2 separate regions of the Homo sapiens genome follow, and region 1 is linked to region 2. Evidence: promoter capture Hi-C in human tissues and cell types (Jung and others, 2019). All regions are on one chromosome and are shown on one strand. The core of a region is centred on a gene start or on the middle of the fragment in contact, and the rest is flanking DNA. Distances in the headings are between cores, read along the strand shown.

Evidence for each region. The method cuts DNA at HindIII sites, captures the fragments that hold promoters and counts their contacts. A contact is called where the count stands out against the background at its distance.
Region 1: a fragment that was not itself captured here is called in contact with the fragment with the promoter of TMPRSS4 in region 2 in 2 of the 25 tissues and cell types used here (H1 embryonic stem cells and mesenchymal stem cells).

Annotation. Positions count from the first base shown.
Region 1 is chr11:118,000,963-118,004,030 of GRCh38, reverse strand. It overlaps IL10RA (interleukin 10 receptor subunit alpha), which reads right to left. Exons shown (of 7, transcript NM_001558.4): 7 at 2,548-3,068. It overlaps SMIM35 (small integral membrane protein 35), which reads left to right. Exons shown (of 5, transcript NM_001394165.1): 5 at 1-397. Among named protein-coding and RNA genes, the nearest start is that of IL10RA, 16 kb to the right of the region's middle. The HindIII fragment of the contact is 4,642 bases long and covers 1-3,068 here.
Region 2 is chr11:118,075,216-118,078,397 of GRCh38, reverse strand. TMPRSS4 (transmembrane serine protease 4) reads right to left here and starts at 1,320. Exons shown (of 13, transcript NM_019894.4): 1 at 1,093-1,320. The coding sequence starts at 1,095. All of the region lies in intron 1 of SMIM35 (small integral membrane protein 35), which reads left to right. RefSeq lists an enhancer at 870-1,465. The HindIII fragment of the contact is 5,819 bases long and covers 1-3,182 here.

The DNA of each region.
Region 1 (3,068 bases), core at 315-2,814, 75 kb after region 2:
GGGAACTCACTCAGCTGGCACCTTGATCCTGCACTTCCCCACCTCCAGAACTGTGAGAGATAAATGTCTGTTGTTTAAGCCACCCAGTCCATGGTGTTTTGTTATAGTAGCCCAGCCTAAGACAGCCTCCTACCCTGTTTCTCTGCCTCCTGCCTCATCCTTCATGTGGAATACTAGTTTCTTTCACATCACTTATCACTGATTGTAGTAATACGTTTGTTGTGTTTATTTGCTTGGTGTTTATCTTCATAACCAGATGACAGGCTCCATGAAGCCACACTTGTTTGGTTCACCACTCTGTACCCAGGGCTGCACACCATGTCCAACACATAACAAGTGCTTCGTAATGTTTTTTGACAAAATGAAATGCTGACTACAATAAAAGTCTCCAGCCAGGTCTCTTTGCCTCCTGCCCCATCCTTTCTGATTCATGTCTGATGCTTTGGATAGAGCCATATTCTTAAAACACAAGTTTTATCCTACCCAGTCCTTCTTCGGCAGAGTGTTTATTGGGTCCCACAACCCTTTTTGGAGGTTTATGGGAAATTAAGTGAAGTTAGGATCGAGATGATAGTGGGAAAATGTGCTGTGTGTCATTAATAACAATGCATTTAATTTTAAATTGGGGTTTACTTCAAACCCAAAACTGTGGGTTTGCTTTTTTAACCCATGAGCACAACAGGAAATGAATGAGTCAAGCTTCCTAGTATCTAGGGTCCTCTAGGTTGAGGCTTGATCAAATCAGCCCTGACTGCCCAGACCTGCCACTTAGGCAGCAGACCTGTCAGTGGTCCCAGGTGGTCACAGCCTACAGCTTCCCTTGCTGTGCTGTTCCCATGTGGGGCTCAGAGACCTTCCACCCAGCAGAGCAGCATGGGCTCTGGGGGTGGGACCCAGCTTCCTAGGGACTGTGTGTCTTCTGTGAAAGTGTGAACACTGAGGCCGGGGGATGAATATATGCTGGGTAGACAAGGCACACCCTGACTATAGCTATTTACAAAGTTGGGAAAACACAGTTTATTGAATTTCCTCTTCACTCAATGGTGGCCCATTTACCCCCTCTCTGTACTAAGAGGAAGTTCCATTAGCTCACACAAAGACAGCATTACGCATTCCTCAGCTTGGAAAAGCCCTTGAAGGAGATTGCTCAGTTGAAGAACAGCTGGGGCCTTCTGTTGGGGGCTGTAATCCAAATTCCCAAGAAATCTGCAAGTGTCTCATCAGCCCCGGCTGCTTGGAAGGACTCGCTCAGTTTCTCCCAAGGGCCTGTCTGTGGTGAGTGGTTACAGAGCAGCCTCAAAGCAGAGATGAACCAGCGCAAACTCCTACTCATTCCACAGAAACGGAGCAGGCAGGGCCTGCACCAAGGGCTGTGTCTTCTGACTTCCTTCTGTCCTGCAAGCTGCTCTTTGATCTGTCGTATCCAACCAAACTGGCTGCAGTTCCTTGAATGTAATTCCTTTTACTCTCTGAATCTTTATATTTAGACCTTAGGGGCCTTTTCCATGGGGAATAAGCCATCGCTAACACCTCATTTCCAGGAGAAAGTGACCAACACTACTTTTCTTTCCAATATTGACAAGGAGGGCTCTAGGGCAAAAGCCTGAGCAGGTCTGAAATGGCGTGATATTAGTCAAGTTCTCTGAAGATGATAGGATCAGCACTTCCTCAGAACTAGTTATTTTCTCAGAATGAACTGGGTGAGGCAAGATTGGAGATGACACAGGGGAAAAGAGGTGAGGTGTCCCCAGTCACCTTCTAGGGGATTCAGGTAGGACGAAGAGAAAAGCACACCCAGGAAGCTCAGGCCGCGGGCCTGGGTTTGTTCTACCCACTGGGCTGAGCATGGGGAGAAATTCAAACCCACATGGGGTTTTTCATGGAGGGAGCAGGCTGCTTCTAGAATAGAGTGCAGATGGCTTCCGCACTTAGGAGAACCACCACTGGGACATGCCTCCTGGGCAAGGGGAGCCAGGGACAGGGCTCTGGGAACAGAGCTCCAGGGAGGCCCAGTTTGCTGTCTTCCTGGAAAGGAGGGGTTTCCAGGTTCTTCTCTCCACATTGTCAGAACTCACATCCAAAACGTTGCATTGTGCTTTCCACCTCTTCCTTTTCTGTCTTCTGAAAGAGTCCCGCTGCACACTCCTTATCGCTTTCATTTTCACTTGTTTCCAAGAAAAGCTGTCCATTTTTCTTTACAGACTCAACAGCCAATGACAGCTAGTGGCACATAGTACCACATGCCTGGCACCATGTTAAACTTTTTATGTGCAATTTCATTTACACCTCACAACATCCTCATGGGGAGTTGTCAACTCCACGTGACAGGTGGGGAAATTAAAACTTGGAGAGGATAAGTAATGGGCCCAAGGTCACAATACAGGTAGCATGAGGACTCCCTGGGTCTGTCAGATTTAAGCCTGAGTCCTCAGCCCTGTTTCCTTAAAGTGACATCACACATCCCACACATTATTACCCTCCTCATTATCAACAACCGAGTCCTCCATGAGCCAATGTGCCATCAGCAATCTGACTAGTTTCACACGATTCCTGTGGTCTTGACAATTTATTGGAATAAAAAACATGTATCACTTATTGACAGAGCTTTGTGTTCAAGGCACATTCATACCCATTTCCTCAGCAGAACCTCACATCCCTACGAATTAGACAAGTCAGTCATTATTCTGCAGATGAGGAAACTGAGGCTCCAAGAGGATAAGTGACTTCTCCAAGGTCATACCACTGGAAACAGCAAAGTCAGAGCTAGAATTTCGGGGCTCCTGAGATATCCAGAATTCTTTCACTGTGCAATGCTGCCTCTCCAATAAATAAATGAACAAAATAAATAAATAAAGCTTTCAAGGGAACCCTGAGGAATCCTCCCTCAAGCCTGCCTCCAGAGGGAGTTCAGTTACCAGACTGGCACCTAAGAGTACTTTGGCAGAGGGGTGGGGGTCATGGCTGGATTCCCTGGGCCAGAATATCTGTTTTCAGAATGCTCCAGAGAAAGGCAGGGCTGAGATGACTCTGGATGGCACGCACAGGCCTGTCCCCTCACAGCTTCCATG
Region 2 (3,182 bases), core at 71-2,570:
GGGCCCCTGCAGGTCACACCCTTCCCCCTTGGACAGTGGCTTCTCCTTTCCTCTCTTCCCTTCCCTTTCACTTTGGTGGCTGGGCAATTGCTGCCTCTTGGCCAAGGACTGGAGAAGGAAGACCCCTGGGTTCCTCCTCAGACCCAGTTATTATCTCTTCCCCTCCCTGGCCCTCAGCTGTCCTCCTTGAAAGATAGGGTTGATTCTCTTTGCCCCAAGACAGCGAAGACGCTCCAGGTATTCAGAGGAGGAGGAGAGAGGGTGAGGGCATGAAAAGAGACCAAGTAAAAGATGACCACAAACACCCTAGATTGTTTGGAGGCATCTCTGCACTGTTTTCTTTTCCTTCTTTCTTTTTTTTTTTTTTTTTTTTTTTTTTTTTTTGAGACGGAGTTTCACTCTTGTTGCCCAGGTTGGAGTGCAATGGCACAATCTTGGCTCACCACAACCTCCGCCTCCCAAGTTCAAGCGATTCTCCTGCCTCAGCCTCCCAAGTAGCTGGGATTACAGGCACCTGCCACCACGCCTGGCTAATTTTTTGTATTTTTAGTACGGATGGGGTTTCACCATACTGGCCAGGCTGGTCTCAAACTCCTGACCTCGAGAGATCTGTCTGCCTCAGCCTCGCAAAGTGCTGGGACTACAGGCGTGAGCCACTGCACCCAGTCTACACTTTTCTTTAAAAAGAAAAGGAATCAGTTTCCCCAGGGAGTGGCAGAGGGCAACCGTGGCATCAGAACAGCCCCCTGCCTTGGAAAAATAGTGCCAACCTCTAACCAACAGACCTGGAGACATTGGGCAAAAGAACATGCAGGATTCAGGAAAGAATAGTCGGGAAGGACAGCCCTGGCTCTGTGCTCAGCTTCTTAGGTGAGCTGGTCCAAGGACCATGGCAATGGAGGAAGAGAGGAAGGCAGGTGGGTATGAGACGTGTACCGGGCTGGGGTGTGAGGGGATTTGGGTGTGGCCTCTTTTTTTAACCTAGAAGGTGTCACAGAATTCTCAGCTGATGGATGCTCAGGCTGCTTGAAGGGCCTTACATGGGGAGACCCACCCTTCCTGTGTCTTGGGAGCAGAGGGCCCCACACTCACCATGCTGGCTCTGTGATCCTCCCGGTCTCCCTGTAGCCTGGAGCTGAGATTGTCACCCCAAGGCAGCAGGAGGGCCTCCCCACACAGGTCCTGGCTGGCCAGCAGGTCAGAAGTCCCTGGTCAGCACTGGCTGGAGGAGGCCCGAGTGCAGGGCAGGCCTTGGTCCCTCACGCCCAGCATCCTTGTCCGCTGAGCAAGCTGCTGCCTCTCTCTGTGTATTCCAGGAGTGATTGGGGGACTTTGGGCAGCTTGATTAAAACAGCCCTACAAGTGAAGTTGCCAAACTGGAATGATTATGTGTCTTGTAACCTGACACCTATCTTAGGGGCTGGAACAACACCTGAAGTCATTCATGGGACCTTCGGCCTCAGAACAGGTGACACACCTAAGGCGTAACAAAAGCCTTCCCGCCTGAATGACTTCCACCCAACTGGGTGTTGGCTGAGGGTGATGCCAGAAGTTTCCGCCCCCCCTCCCCCTACCTTCTAGGTGCATGACTTCTCACTGTGTGGGTGCTTTGGTTTGGGGTTGTGGGAAGTTGGAGTGGTCTGGGGGTTGGGCGACAGGGTTTGCAGCTCAGTACAAAGAGATCATTGCCAGGTGTGGAGCAATAGGATTGGAAAGTCCACAGAGAAGGAGGGAGTTTCTTCTCTTAGGGAGGTAAGATGTACCCCCTTTCCCTGGATCCCAGAAGTGAAGCTGTCCTGCACAGAGCCAATGTACTAGTGCTTCCTGCCCCTGCCTCAGCAGCCGTTCAATATTCTGAAAATCACTATTGGTGCTCTGGCTAGAGCCCACGTCTCCTCGTCCACGGAGTCATTTCCTTCTTTCTTTCTTTCTTTTTTTCTTTTCTTTTTTTAAGACAGGGTCTCTCTCTGTCCCCCAGGCTGGAGTGCAGGGGCGCAATCTCAGCTCACTGCAACCTCCGCCTCCTAGGTTCAAGCAATTCTCGTGCTCCAGCCTCTCGAGTAGCTGGGACTACAGCCACCTGCCACCACACCCAGCTAAGTTTTGTGTTTTTGTATTTTATTTTATTTTGAGACAGAGTCTCTGTTGCCCAGGCTGGAGTGCAGTGGCGCGATCTTGGCTCACTGCAACCTCCACCTCCCAGGTTCAAGTGATTCTCCTGCCTCAGCCTCCCAAGTAGCTGCTGGGATTACAGGTGTTGTGCGCCACCATGCCTGGCTAATTTGTATTTTTAGTAGAGATGGGGTTTTGCCATGTTGGCCAGGCTGGTCTCAAACACCTGGCTTCAACTGATCCACCTGCCTCAGCCTCCCAAAGTGCTGTGATTATGGCGTGAGCCACCGCACCCAGCCCCACAGGATCATTTCTGATTCACGTTCTGCCACATCCTGATAGCTGGAGCTGCCCCCTGGCCAGGGGATGTGCAAGGTGAAACCTTACAGCCACAGATATTTTGCTGGGAGAGACTTGGATAATTGTCCACATTGTTCCCCCATTCTGTGGGCGACAAAACTAAATTCCAGAGAGGCAAAGTCAATGACCCAAAGTCACATAATGAATTAGTGTCTGGTTCCATATGAATCCAGATCTCCTTCCATTTCTCAGACCTGACCCTCCCAGGAGACCAGCCTGGGTTAGACGTGTGTATTTGTCCTTCTGTTGATAACGTGCTTCTGTGTATCAGCCCTTTAATTCTCCAACAACAACCCCAATATTTTGTTCCCATTTGTCAGCTGAGGAAACTATAGCCTATGGACATGAAGTAGTTTCGGGCAGAGTTGGGGCTGGAACCTGGTTCTCTTACTGGTTCACACTGCCAGGCTTGTGAACAGGCTGAATGGAACACAAGTGTTTGAAAGCCCCAGGTTCATGGTTTGGGATAATATGGCCCATGGAGGACCCCAGTGATGTCTGAGCAGGAGGAATACCGGATCTGTGTAATGGATTATTGGCCAAATCTCAGCTGATGAATGCAGTGTGGCCTTGGACTTGTCTCTGAGCAGCAGAGATCTGAAGCTGGCCTGCAGGGCTCTGGAGCCAGCACAGCCCCAGCCCTTCCTTACTGATGGCTGGTGGCCTTGAGAGTTGGAAGTCTTGGGCAGAGGCAAGAGCCTGTGATCTCA